Regions from separate parts of the Homo sapiens genome. Here all the other regions are linked to region 2. The links are contacts of gene promoters, found by promoter capture Hi-C in blood cells and fetal thymus (Javierre and others, 2016). All regions are on one chromosome and are shown on one strand. The core of a region is centred on a gene start or on the middle of the fragment in contact, and the rest is flanking DNA. Distances in the headings are between cores, read along the strand shown. Region 1 overlaps PRELID3A (PRELI domain containing 3A). Region 2 holds the start of CEP76 (centrosomal protein 76). Region 3 overlaps SEH1L (SEH1 like nucleoporin).

Region 1 (4,996 bases), core at 1,609-4,108, 280 kb after region 2:
TACCTGCCCGGACTACTGGTCTCCCTGGCTCAGGTCCCAACATCCCCCCGGCCCTCTCTCCACAGGGCTGCCAAGGTATTCTTCCCAACACACAACCCGGCTACCTCACCTTCCTGCAACAAACTCTCAGTGGCTCCCTCTTACCACGAAAACGACCTCCGGCTCCTCTGCCTCTTCTGTGGTCTTGTGCCTGCCCCTCTCCAGCCTCCTCCCTCCCACACCACCTTCCCCTCTTAGTCTCTAACGCCATCTGTTTGTGGCTCTCTAAGGCTCAAGGGCGCCCACTGCCAGTGTGTATGGAGAAGTCCTGCCAGGCTCCCTGTCACCTACCTTCACATGGCCACTTAGGGGAGCTCCTGCTCGCTGCCACCTATGTGGGTTGTCTAGATGCCCACCGTGCGATGACAGAGCCAGTCAGGAGGAAATATCTTAATCCTTGCATTCCCCATCCCTAGCACTGTGCTGGGTACCTGGCAGGCACTTGATACCGTTGGCAGAACCAGTAAATAGTGGTGGCTAGAGCCAACCATGGCACTGGGGACAGAAAAGTGAGGCCAGATGAGGGCACCGCTGACTTCACCCACCATAGCCCATTTCTATATTTGCTGAAAATAAGGATTATTTTTTGAAATAAATAATTTTGCTAGCCCATGCATATTTCCCAACATGTTCTTGCATTTGCATTAGGCCAATATACATTTTTTAATTGAGAGAAGTGAGAGAGGAGTGAAGGGGGGAAGTAGCTTTAAAAATACCTGTTGGGGCCAGGTGCGGTGGCTCACACCCATAATCCCAGTACTTTGGGAGGCTGAGGCGGGTGGATCACGAGGTCAGGAGTTTGAGACCAGCCTGACCAACATGGTGAAACCTCCTGTTTACTAAAAATACAAAAATTAGCCAGGTGTAGTGGCACGCGGCTGTAATCCTAGCTACTCAGGAGGCTGAGGCAGGAGAATGGCTTGAAACCAGGGGGCGGAGGTTGCAGTGAGCCGAGATCACGCCACTGCACTCCAGCCTGGGCGACAGGGTGAGACTCCATCTCAAAAAAAAAAAAAAATGCCTGTTGGTGGTACACACCTGTAGTCCCAGCTACTTGGGAGGGTGAGACAGGAGAATCGCTTGAACCCATGAAGTGGAGGTTGCAGGGTGCTGAGATCCACTGCACTCCAGCCTAGGTGAGAGAGAGAGACTGTCTCAAAAATTAAAAAAAAAAAAAAAAAAGCACGTTGAAAGGCATCACTTGAGACCAGGAGTTTGAGATCAGCCTTGGCAACAGCGAGATCCTATCTCTGTGAAAAATAAAAATAAAAAAACAGCCAGGGATGGTGGCACGTGCCTGTGGTCCCAGCTATTTGGGAAGCTGAGGCAGGAGGATCACTTGAGCCCAGGAGTGCGAGGCTGCACTGAGCTATGACCACACCACTGCACTCCAGCCCGGGTGACAGGGCAAGACCCCATCTTTAAAAAAACAAAAACGTCTGCTGGTTGTCAGGACAGTGGTTATCCTGTGGGGGGTGCCCAAGGGGTCTCAGGGGCTGGTCAAATTCTGTTGCTTGAACTGCCTGCTAGTTAAGAGGTGCGTTCTTTGTGACAATTCATCATTATGTGCATTTTTCTATATACTTATTATACTTGAATAAAAAGATAAACTGCTAAATGAATTCAGCCTTTCTGTTAAAAATAAGCAACACCTAGACCAAAGGTGGGCTGGAAATAGAATTAAACGAAGGCCTTACGCACCACCACCCAGACACACTGAGCCCGTTTCTCATCTGAGGCCATTGCTTACATTGGTAGAACAAAGTTCCATTTTCTTTTCCACTGGATCCACCACAGAATGTTCTCGGATGTATGTCAATGTCCTACTGGTTCCCAAAATCTAGAAAACAAAGCAAAACTAGCATAGTGGAACGTTAAAAATTCTACTTCATATCACCACCGAATACCATTGCATTTACTAATTAGTTCACTATTCAAGAAATGATATCATGGGATGCAGCAAGGGACAGAGACAAAACCCCTGTGTCCAGGGCGCTTCCGCTCCAGCAGGTGAGCCACTGAGCAAAGAAATGAATTCCAACAGAGTGGAGCGTGCAGCAGCACTATGCTCCCGGCAAAATAAAACAGGCTGCGGGCAGTGGAGCTAGGAGGCCCCTCTGCCGGGCGGAGTCTGGGCAGAGCCCCAAAGAGGAAGGTACCACCATAGTGCTGGGGTGGGGGTGTCAGGCTGGGGGCAGCAGGTGCAGGCCCCTGCAGCAGGAGCTGGGCTGACTGAGAGGCCTGCGCCAGGCCAGGGTGTGGACTGCAGGTGGAGGCGAGATCCAGGGGCCGGGTTGGGGTGAGCCGTGCTCAGATTTGCATTTCCAGCGACCTCCCTGGCTCTGAGGAAGAGGCCACGGGGGGCTGAACCATGGTGAAGCCTAATCCCGGTGCCCTAGGATGCGGCTGGCTGCGGACGCTGGGCTTTAGAGGCGGTTAAACCAGGAGGAGGGGCGCCTGGCAGTGCTAATCCAGCAGGCCCGGGCCCTTTGGGAGGACAGATGGGGATGCCAGACGCCACGCGCCAGGCAGAGCCTCCCGCGACCCCCGATCTCGAGGAAGACCCCCCCACCGTCCCCCCACCCCGTGACCCCCGATCTCGAGGAAGATCCCCCCCCACCGACCCCCCACCCCACGCCCCCCGATCTCGAGGAAAACCCTCCCACCAGCCCCCCAGCCCGTGCCCCCTGATCTCGGGGAAGTTCCCCCCACCGCCACCCCCACCCCGCGCCCCCTGATCTCAGGAAAGGCCCCCCGCCGCCCTCCCACCCCGATGGCAGCCAAAGCAGCAGAGGCACTGATGAGGGGAGGAGGGACGCGGGAGAGGGCGGGGGCGGGAGTGGGGGAGTCGGGCGCGTTCGGAGCCGCAGCCCCCGCCCCGCTCACCGCTCTCACGAGGCTGGGCAGCCCCCACTCGGTGCTGAGCAGGCGCAAGCTGTGCAGGCGGCCGCGGCCGTCCACGCGGCGCTGTAGCACATCCACGCCCAGCACGCTCGGGTTCATCGGGTTCGGGTACTTGCGCATGGCCGCCTGGATGACCGTGTCCCACGGGTGGCTGCGGGGAGAGCATAGGCGGCGGTGAGCAAGCGCCGGGGCCGGGGCCGCAAGGGTGAAGGGGAGGAAAAGCCGCCGCCAGGCCTGGGCAACGCGCTAGTCTCTTCACTTTAATGAAAGGCTGGTCCGACAAATCTGAGGAGTCCCGCGAGCCCTCCCCGGCCGCCGGCTCAGCACCTGCACGCCTCGGCACCTGGCAGCCCCTTGGTTTTTGTTTGTCTGAGACAGGGTCTCACTCTGTCGCCCAGCAGGCAGGAATGCAGTGGTGCCATCAGGGTCACTGCAGACTCAAACCTCCCAGGCTCAAGTGAACATCCTGCCTCAGCCTCCTCTTGCCCCACCTCCAGTAGCTGGGACTACAGGCGTGTGCCACCAAACCTGAATGACTTTTTTGTTTGAGACGGAGTCTTGCTCTGTCACCCAGGCCGGAGTGCAGTGGCGCGATCTCAGCTCACTGCAAGCTCCGCCTCCCGGGTTCCCGCCATTCTCCTGCCCCAGCCTCCGGAGCAGCTGGGGCTACAGGCGCCCCCCACCATGCCTGGCTAATTGTTTTCTATTTTTTAGTAGAGAGGGGGTTTCACCGTGCTCTCGATCTCCTGACCTCGTGATCTGCCCGCCTCGGCCTCCCAAAGTGCTGAGATTACAGGCGTGAGCCACCACGCCCGGCCTAACTTTTTAAATTAATTAATTTTTTTTTGAGATGGGGTCTCACTCTATCACCCAGGCTGGAGTGCCGTGGCACGATCTCAGCTCACTGCAACCTCCGCCTCCCGGGTTCAAGTGATTCTTCTGCCTCAGCCTCTCTAGTAGCTGGGATTACAGGCACCCACCACCACACCTGGCTAATTTTTGTATTTTTAGTAGAGATGGGATTTCCCCATGTTGGCCAGGCTGGTCTGGAACTCCTGACCTCAAGTGATCCGCCTGCCTCAGCCTCCCAAAGTGCTGGGATTACAGGCATAAGCCACCACGCCTGGCCAACTTTTTTTTTTTTTTTTTTGATATGGAGTCTCGCTCTGTCACCCAGGCTGGAGTGCAATGGCTCTGTCTCGGCTCACTGCAACCTCCACCACCCGGGTACAAGCGATTTTCCTGCCTCAGCCTCCCTAGTAGCTGGGACTACAGGTGCCCGCCACCACACCCAGCTAATTTTTTTTTGTATCTTTAGTAGAGACGGGATTTCACCATGTTGGCCAGGCTTGTCTCAAACTGCTGACCTCGTGATCCGCCTGCCTCAGCGTCCCAAAGTGCTAGGATTACAGGCGTGAGCCACCGTGCCCAGCCCAACTTTTTATTTTAACAATTTTTTTAGGTCTCATTATGTTGCCAGGTTGATGTCGAACTCATGGCCTCAAGCAATCCTCCTGCCTTGGCCTCCCAAAGTGCTGGAATTATGGGCATGAGCCACCGCACTCAGCCTCCCCTTGTTTTATTTCCTGCCATCAGAGTGGTTGCAAGTCACCCATTGCTTTCCAGAGCTCTGCACTTGTTTAGGCCTGAAACCTGCAGGGTCAGACACACGTCTGAAGGGAGCCAAGTGAGGGGCCACCACACCTGTCCAGCATGGACCTTCCCCCGGACTGCTAAGGGGTTGCTAGCAAGTCACTTTATTGCCCTAATTGTCCTAATCCACCCTTCCTTCAAGGTGTGCTCTCTCCCAGGAAGCCTCTGAGCCTCCTGCAAGGACAAACATTCTCTGACAAGATCATCATTTCTTCAGAAGTGCCCAGAGAGGTTTGTCCAGCATATGTATAGACACAGCCCAGAGGCAAGCCCAGATGTGTGCACACACCTATGCACCATCACATTCACATGTGTGCACATATGCATGCAGACACACATACATGCACATGCACACACATCTTGAAAAATTAAACTGGGATTACACTCAATATATGGGTTT
Region 2 (4,802 bases), core at 409-2,908:
TCCTGAGCTCAAGCGATCCTCCTGTACTCGGCCTTCTAAAGTGCTGGGATTACAGGCATGAGCCATCATGCCTGTCTCTGAATTAATGACTGAATATATATTATACAACCCAAATCTTTAACTTGTTTTCTATCATTCATTCAACCCACTCCAATATGGCTTTCCTCTTCACCACTTCACTGGTAACTGTTTGTCCAGGTGACCATCATTAACATGTCGCTAAATCCAAACATACACTTTCTTCACCTTACACATCTCTGGGCTACTTTTGACATGGCCACTCCCTCCTTTTTGAAACACTCTTCTCTGGGGCTGTGTGTTTTATATGTAATGAATAAGGATGACACTTCCAGCTCTCTCCAGCCTTATACCACTCCAAACAGTGCATTTTCCAATGGTGCCTTCTGGGTTCACAGGGCCTACAGCCTATTCTCTCTCAATGTGTCATTCCAAATTCTTGGCAGTCTTCAAGTCCCCCTGCTTACTGACTCTGTTTTAGACATCCATCTTTCTGAAACGCCTACTTTCCCCTACTCCCAGCCCACGGGCCCTCCATCTTTTGCATACTACTTTCTCTATAAAGCCTTTCTTAACAAGCCATCTGTCCCTCCCCTCCCAATTATCTCAGGACCTTTCTATACCCTTTCAAGCTTCTAGCCTAGCATTTATTGCTCTTAGATTACATGTTTCCAACTACAGTGTAAATTCTTTGAGGGCACGCACCTAGTCTTATTCTAATACTCGCACATAACAGACTTTATTAAAACAATGAATGAATATAAAGAGCGATAAAACTGCGCTAACTACCGGCAAGAGTTAATGTTTATTGCCCTATCAGTAGTTCTCCGGTTAACAACGATAATATGCTAGCTTAAGACTAATTCTAAAACTAGTCGTAGAAAGACTTTCTAGGATAAAACTGAAGGATGCCCTGCAAAACATAAGTACAGTGTATCTAGAACGTACGAACACATCACGTTTTACAGGAAACAGAGACTACAAATTGTAGACTTGACTACGTTTGGTTTTACAGCCGACAAAGGTTCTGTTTGGACGGCTGCCTCCGGCTACAACCTCCCTGTTTTTTCCGGCCGAAAACATGAAATAGAAACTAGTGCCCTATTTCTCCCAAGGCACCGCCAAACACCCCGCGTCGGGGTGGCGACACCGCAGGGGCCTCGGGAGGCGGCAGCCCCGAGCGCAAATGGAGACTCACCATTAGGAGGGTGAAGCCGGCAAGGTCGGGGGCCGACTCCCCGCAGGGAACGAACATGGTCGCAGTGGGGTGGCCAGCAGGGACTAACCGCGGCCCTGGCAAGAACGAGGGCAGCAAGAAGGCGGAAGCCCGAGACCCCGGAGCCTCGCGGGGCGCGGGAGGGTCCTTTGAGTCCCTGGGCGCCGGGCCCTTGAGGCCCGTCCAGCTAACTGCCGGTTCAGAGGGCGGAAAGAGGCCGCCGGGTGGCCGCGAAGAGGGGCCAGCAGCGCTTTCGGAGACCCTGGCAAGCAAGGCGATGGGGTGCGCTGAGGTCTCGGGGTGCGGGGCCCGCGGGGAGGTGGAGCGGCGGGCGGAAACGATCAGGCAGCGTGCGGGCCAGCCCCAAGCCCTGTTTGTCCGCCACTGTTTGAAAACAGTTGGCGCCGCCGCCGCCGGGGCCTCATTTCCAGGTCAGCCCCCGGCCTGACGCGGCGTTGCGTCCCCCGGGAGCTGCGCTAGGCGAACGGCTGCGGCGCTTTGTGCTCCAGTCGCTCCTAACGCTCCCTGGCCCGGCCGGGGCCGCGCAGTTAGGGCATCTGAGGCGGGGAGAAGCGGCGGGGAGACGCCGGCTGCCAGCATGTCGCTGCCTCCGGAGAAAGCCTCCGAGCTGAAGCAGCTCATCCACCAGCAGCTGAGCAAGGTGAGAGTCGCGGGTGCTGGGAGAGACCGCCGGGCCGACCCATAACCTTTCCCTCCTGCCCGGCGGCCCCGGGCCGACAGCGGCATCTGCTTGCCGGGACTGTAGCGAGGATTGTGGGGTGCGCAACGCAGAGTAGGCAGAGCTTTGAGTTTGAGGCAGGAGAGCGTCCTCGTCTCCGAGAAAGAAAACGAGCCGAGCAGGTGCTAGCAAGAGTCTGGGGCGATAGAACGAGCGGTCTTGGCGTTTTAGGACGGCCGTGAGAATGAAGCGCTTAGCGAGCGACTTCTGGAAGTCGGATCGAGTGTAAGTTGTATTTGGAGGTTTATATTCTGCTGTAAGATATCAGGTTTTTTTTCTTTCTTGAGACGGAGTCTCTCTGTTGCCCAGGCTGGAGTGCAGTGGCACGATCTCGGCTCACTGCAACCTCCGCCTCCCAGGTTTAAGCGATTCTCCGCCTCAGCCTCCCGAGTAGCTGGGATTACAGGCGCGCGCCACCACGCTCGGCTAATTTTTGTATTTTTAGTAGAGACGGTTTCACCATGTTGGTGTGGCTGGTCCCGAACTCCTGACTTCGTGATCCGGCCGCCTCGGCCTCCTAAAGTGCTGGGATTACAGGCGTGAGCCTCCGCGCCCGGCAGATATCAGGGTTTCTTTACCGCTGAAACATGTGGGTATCAGCGAAGTTGAACCAGGAGCTTCAATCAGCAATTCTCAAATAAGTCATGGAAGAGAAGTTACTAAAGGGTTTGTAATGACGGAATTTGTTAATATTTCGGAGCTCCAGAAGAACCTCCAGTTTCTGCAGCGCTCGCTCGACTGAGTGCAAGATGCTGAAGTGATAAAAGCGACCATTTATGGTGCCCTTGTGTGCCAGGCTTTGTGCTGTCTAGTATCTTTAATCCTCACAACACTATCGTGAGAGGGCACTACACTAGGTTTTTCCATTCTTATCGGTGACGAAACAGATTTATAAAGGGTAAATAAGTTGGCTTGAGGTTACACATCTACTAAGTTGAAAGCTGGTAAGATTCCCTTATCATTAGGCAGATCAAAGTATGAAAGTAATAAGATCATACTTTGATCTGCCTACTCCCAGTCCGTGTTCTTCTGATTATACTATACTCCCTCTCAGAAGATTCCTTTTGGTTGAGTGTTGTTTGTGGAGAAATGGTAACAAAGGTGCCAGATAACCAGTGGAGACTATTTCTAGAATTTGTACTCAAAAGATTCATTCTTTAAAAGCTTACCTTTGTTCCCATTCAATTGTGGTAACAATTGTGCATTTACTGTTAGCTGGAGAACCTTAAAACTTCAGAAGCAGTATTTGACTGCTTTGTGATGTTATAAATTGTAATATGAGTTTTCTACATAGATGGATGTCCATGGTAGAATAAGAGAAATCCTTGCTGAGACTATACGGGAAGAATTGGCACCTGATCAACAGCATTTATCAACAGAAGATTTGATCAAAGCCCTTAGACGTCGAGGAATCATTGACGATGTGATGAAAGAACTTAATTTTGTTACTGTGAGTAATCTTTTAGGGAAATAAATGAGAGTATATATGTATATACTAATGCGTAACACTACTTATAAGGTTCCGATGTGGGGCCTTTCGTTTTAGTAAAACCACTTCAAGGTCATTCTGTTTACTAGTGTCCTTGTTTCAAGTATAGGCTAGCTCTGCCCTTGAATATACTGAATAGTTTTGTGTATCAATGAAATTTGTGTTAGATATCTTATTCCTGTCTCTACAGTGACAGAATTTTCTCTTATTTTCTAGGTCTGTAAATTTGAATATACATACTTTAGTCCAATTAGTTCACCATAACAAAGTTCTTTTTCATTATGATCTGTAACTTTTTTAGATTAAGCGTATTTTTAAAATAAGCACTCTTTTGGGATTATATTCTCTATGATTAACAAATTACAAATTTCTTTAAGAAAATAATTGACTGCATAAGAGTCCTCAAATCTTTTAATACAAATAGGTCAATAATGGGATGATAGTCTCTCAGTGCACAATTAGTAAGTAGGCCTTCATTTGAAAGTGAGGCAATAATGGAAACTGTGACCTCAATACCTGGGTAATATAATGTGAAAATTGGATGGACTTCATAATACAATAGGGAATAAGTATTTTAATACAGCACCTTTTTTTGGTTTTTGAAGTTTATGAACCCGTTTGTTATAAAAATTGACCTAATAACAGCTTCTACTCTGTGATGACACTTTATTAAAATCAGCTCATAGTGGAATTATAAGCCAACTGTTACATAAGGTTTACAGAAAGTTTAACCTTGTTGAAGGTATTAAGGATTTGTTTTTAGCTTTATGTGGATAGTATTACTTGAAGACAGTTTAATTCCTTAGCATTTGATTTTAGGAGTGATCAGTTTACATCATCTTTTATGCAGGCTTTTATTTTCATTATTTTAATTAGGCTAGGAAAATAAGGGGTTCTTTGAAAGGGCCTTACCCTGTTGACTTTAGGTTCAGTGCTTAGTCATGTTTATTGACATTTCCTTAACCTATAATTGTTTTCTAATTTGTTTTGATTTTTTTTTCCTGCCTTTCTAGGACAGTGTTGAGCAAGAACTCCCTTCCTCTCCAAAACAACCTATTTGTTTTGATAGACAATCGACATTAAAAAAAAGTATGTATATTTTAACATTAATTTAGTTGTGGTTAATAGTAAATATTGATGTGGTGTAGTCTTTCGTATTTGATAGAAGACATTTCCATTTTTTCCCCCCAAAATAAAATACTTAAAATTTTATGGTTGGCTAAAACAGATTGTTTTGCATGAAGTATATCAGAAGAGTTAATGTATAGCACGGTAGAAGCAAAAACAGCATCACCAGTTTCTTGTGTTTTAATAATATGTTTTATAAAAACTGTACAGCC
Region 3 (4,320 bases), core at 1,213-3,712, 270 kb before region 2:
GTGGAGTCTTTCCCAGTCTGGCCTGACTCTTGACCCACAGACATTGAAATACCGAATCTGTACTGTTTCAGCCACTGAGTGATAATGCTGTCATGCAGCAATAGACAACTAATCTCAGCTATTCTATCCATCTGCCTTTACACATCCCCACCTGGATGTTCCAAACGCACCTCAAACATATGTCTGAAATAAATTGTGCTTACCACATTCACTCCTCTTTGCTCAGTCCCCATCTCAACAAGTGGCACTACCATCAGCTAGGTCAGAAACCAAGACTCACGTGACCTACAGCTGGTGCCTCCTAGACAAGTCTCCCCGGTCCCTCTTCATCCCACGCCACAGTGCATGTCCTCATTCCACATCATAGTGGGCTACTGCATTCATCCCTGAGTTCCTGCTCCCAGTCCACACAGCTGCCAAAGTCATCTCCCTAAAAGGTAAATACAACCTTGTGACTCTACTGGACCCTGCAAAAGTCCAAATGCTGCCAGGATAGAGATCAGACTTGGCAAGCACCACTCTCCAAAATCTGCCTGGCCTGTTGGCCTGCCCCTCCCCTGTCTCTCTCCTGCATTAGCCTCCCCACCCACCGCCTCGACCCCACGCCCTTGTCTTTGCTCCTGCCTCCTCTCTGCTTGCAGAACACCCTCTGTCTTTCAAGATTCATGCTCAAACATCATCAGCTGAAACTTCTCACCCTACCAGGCAGGTATGTGCTGCCATCTCTAGCAGGTGACCATCCTCATCCATATCCTAGGCGCTGTAAGCTCCTTCAGCTCTTAGTACAGTCCATGCTGCTTATGAAATGTTGAAAAAGTGAGATTTTTTTTTTCTTACCTGAGGCAAGCTATATATTGTAATTAATTAAGGTGGCTGGGCACGGTGGCTCACGCCTGTAATCCCAACACTTTGGGAGGCCGAAGCAGGCAGATCACCTGAGGTCGACAGTTCGAGACCAGCCTGACCAACATGGAGAAACCCCATCTCTACTAAAACTACAAAATTAGCTGGGTGTGGTGGCACATGCCTGTGATCCCAGCTACTTGGGAGGCTGAGGCAGGAGAACTTCTTGAACCCAGGGGGCGGAGGTTACGGTGAGCCGAGATCACACCATTGCACTCCAACCTGGGCAACAAGAGTGAAACTTCATCTCAAAAAAAAAAATAAAATAAAAATAAAAATAATTAAGGTTATCTAAAGCTTCTCCTATCAGAAGGAGCCAAATAAGATCCTCAATGAGAGTGTAAATAAAGAGAATGAACAAAAAAGACTTTGTTTCTGGTCCTGACTCTGGACCTTAGACTAGTCATTCACTCTGTTGGTCTCAGTTTTCTCATTTGTAAAACAGTGTTAATAAAAGCTGTCTCCTCTACTTACAAGGTGGTTGGTAGGATTCAAACTTCATAACACACATAAAAATGCCCGGTAACCTATATAAACACATGGCACTTCTATTATCACTATCAATCCTAGATCTGTTTTAGTATTTTCACTCACAAATAAAAACAAATATATCCAACACTGGTTAATTTGGCAAATGTCTCCTGTCTACTAAATGGTGATACTACTTAGAAAAAGATAAACAGGCCGGGCGTGGTGGCTCACACCTGTAATCCCAGCACTTTGGAAGGCTGAGGTGGGCGGATCACAAGATCAAGAGATGGAGACCATCCTGGCCAAAATGGTGAAACCCCATCTCTACTAAAAATACAAAAGTTAGCTGGGCATGGTGGCGGGTGCCTGTAGTCCCAGCTACCGGGGAGGCTGAGGCAGGAGAATCGCTTGAACCCGGGAGGCAAAGGTTGAAGCGAGCCAAGGTTGCGCCACTGCACTCTAGCCTGGAAACAGAGTGAGACTCCATCTCAAAGAAAAAAAAAGAGAGAAAAAGATAAACAGGTATTAATAACGATACTACATAGTCCACTATCACATCTCCTCCACGTTCAATCTAAATAAGAACCTTCAAACAATGCTTACCTCAAAGAACCAGCAACAGAACTCCAAAAAGTGCTGAACTTAATAGGTTTGATTACTTCCCAAGTCAATAGCACACACCCCCACCTGCAGACACTCTTTCCCCAACACCACTTCCCCTCGTTTTTGATGCTGAAAATGCCAGACACTTGCTGTCTCACTCTCTTGCAGCTAAGGCATGGCTGGATGACCAAACTCCAGCCGCCAGCACCTGATAAGAAGCCTGCTAAGATACTTCTAGGAAAGGTGTTTTTTTCTAGAATACCCTTCTTTGTATTAGCATGTAAAACCTGACATTGTGCAGCTCTTTTGTGATCATAAGAGGGAGCTATCACCAGTGTACTAAGCATGACAGCAAGAAAAAAGTGGAAAATATTTAGGTAGGTCCTTGATGTCATCATTGAGCAACTGAGTCACTACCTAACCCCAGAACTGCTCCACCCTCAGGCTCCTTGTCACATGACATAATACAGGGAATCCCCCAGTCTAGATTTATTCTGTTAGCTAAGAGACTAGACTCAAATGCAATCTCAGATTATTTTTAACATTGGATTATTTAGGTAATTTAGAAATACTTAGGTAATTTCTAGGCCGGCCGTGGTGGCTCACACCTGTAATCCCAGCACTTTGGGAGGCCGAGGTGGGTGGATCACCTGAGGTCAGGAGTTCAAGACAAGCCTGGCCAACATGGTGAAACCCCGTCTCTACTAAAAATACAAAAATTAGCCAGGCGTGGTGGCACGCACTTGTAATCCCAGCTATTCAGGAGGCTAAGGCAGGAGAATCACTTGAACTCGGGAGGTAGAGGTTGCAGTGAGCTGAGATTGCATCACTGCACTCCAGCTTGGGTGACAGAGTGAGACTCTCAAAAAAAAAAAAAATAGGTAATTTCTATTTGCCTGTATTTTCTTTCAGAACTAACTGCAAGTTATTTATCTTTTTACTCAAATCTTACTTATGAAATATTTTCTTTTCCTATGTTTTAGAAAAAAATCTTTTTTTGACACTGCTGGAGTGAAGTGGTGCAATTTTGATTTACCGCAGCCTCGACCTCCCAGGCTCAGGTGATCATCCCACCTCAGTCTCCCAAGTAGCTGGAACTACAGGCATGCGCCATCATCCCCACAGCTAATTTTTGTACTTTTTGTAGCGAAAGGGTTTCACCATGTTGTCCAGGCTGGTCTTGAATTCCTAGACTCAAGTGATCCACCCACCTCAGCCTCCCAAAGTGCTGAGATGGCAGGCATAAGTCACCTCGCGTGGCCAATGATACACCTTTTACGTTTTTGGGCTTATGTCTACATATTCATTCTGCTCAGCTCAGGTTGAAATTTACTTTAACAAGCCCAACACTTCATGAAGCCTCTATAAAATGTGCTATTAATAGGGCTCATAGTTTTTACAGCTTAAAACTCCATGAAAATCTCTAAGACCATTTCCCATCACTGCAGCACATTCTACTGGACAGCACTGTTGAAGACTGAGCCTCTCTGCAGACACCAACAATCTAGGAAGGTAGAAGGTGTAAGATCCCCTTGGTAACCCAGATGGTAACATTTGGAATTGCAGAGCCCACGGGAGTAACACTAGTTCCTTCTCTACTGCTGGCCCTGCCTAAGATCTGACTATTAGACTCAAGAATTTTGTCTAGTACCTGCGAAGCCCATCTGATCACCTGACAAGTGCTCTCTTCTCCTGTAAGACTGAGTAGTGTGCCTCTGAGACACTGCTTTTGGCTCTCAGAAGCTTTGCAGACACTTGTATCTCGGCATGACCAAAATTAACTTACCTTCACATGCTGCCACACTCTACCCAAATCTGCCTTGTTCCCAGAGTTCCTTATCTCAAGAAATTACACACATTGAAATTACACACTGAACTCTTAAGCCAGAACCTTGGAAATCATCTTAACACCTTCCCCCTTCTTCCTCAGTTCAGTTCTCAAATCCAATCAATCACCAGATCCTATTGATACCACTTCTCAATTATTCTCAAGTTGTCCACTTATCTCCATGCCACTGCTACTACTATCCCAAAGCCACGTACTCTCCCACCTGGACTGTCTTCATAGCATCCTAGCCGTGAATCCACCATGTTTCCCTCCAAAACACTTGTCACACCTATAGAAGATCCATCTGATCCCATTATTCCCTATTCACATCACCTGTAAGATAAAACTGAAACAATGGACATTACTTCTTATAGATACAAGTCTTGCCTATTTCTCTCCACACTCATTTTTGCCCAGCATGTTCCAACAACAGTATAAATATACTCCCTCTCTCTTGCTCACGGCCTTACCACATGCAGTTTTCTCCACCAGGAGTGCTTCTGCCCTCTTTGTCT

The links. Contacts are between HindIII fragments. The CHiCAGO score rates a contact against its expected background, and 5 or more counts as called.
Region 1: a contact is called between a fragment that was not itself captured here and the fragment with the promoter of CEP76 in region 2, in 8 of 17 cell types (endothelial precursors, M0 macrophages, M1 macrophages and 5 more). The highest score is 7.9, in endothelial precursors.
Region 3: a contact is called between a fragment that was not itself captured here and the fragment with the promoter of CEP76 in region 2, in 10 of 17 cell types (total CD8 T cells, neutrophils, erythroblasts and 7 more). The highest score is 8.2, in total CD8 T cells.

Annotation. Positions count from the first base shown.
Region 1 is chr18:12,418,423-12,423,418 of GRCh38, reverse strand. PRELID3A (PRELI domain containing 3A) reads right to left here. Exons shown (of 7, transcript NM_001142405.2): 2 at 2,926-3,094; 3 at 1,790-1,879. Among named protein-coding and RNA genes, the nearest start is that of PRELID3A, 13 kb to the right of the region's middle. RefSeq lists a silencer at 2,786-2,935. The HindIII fragment of the contact is 6,008 bases long and covers 1-4,996 here.
Region 2 is chr18:12,699,579-12,704,380 of GRCh38, reverse strand. CEP76 (centrosomal protein 76) reads left to right here and starts at 1,658. Exons shown (of 12, transcript NM_024899.4): 1 at 1,658-1,895; 2 at 3,268-3,423; 3 at 4,476-4,551. The coding sequence starts at 1,833. It overlaps PSMG2 (proteasome assembly chaperone 2), which reads right to left and starts at 1,339. Exons shown (of 7, transcript NM_020232.5): 1 at 1,217-1,339. The coding sequence starts at 1,273. RefSeq lists enhancers at 1,971-2,020, 2,031-2,330, 1,616-2,513. The HindIII fragment of the contact is 2,487 bases long and covers 653-3,139 here.
Region 3 is chr18:12,971,843-12,976,162 of GRCh38, reverse strand. The region is part of intron 5 of SEH1L (SEH1 like nucleoporin); the gene reads right to left. Among named protein-coding and RNA genes, the nearest start is that of CEP192, 17 kb to the left of the region's middle. The HindIII fragment of the contact is 2,520 bases long and covers 1,203-3,722 here.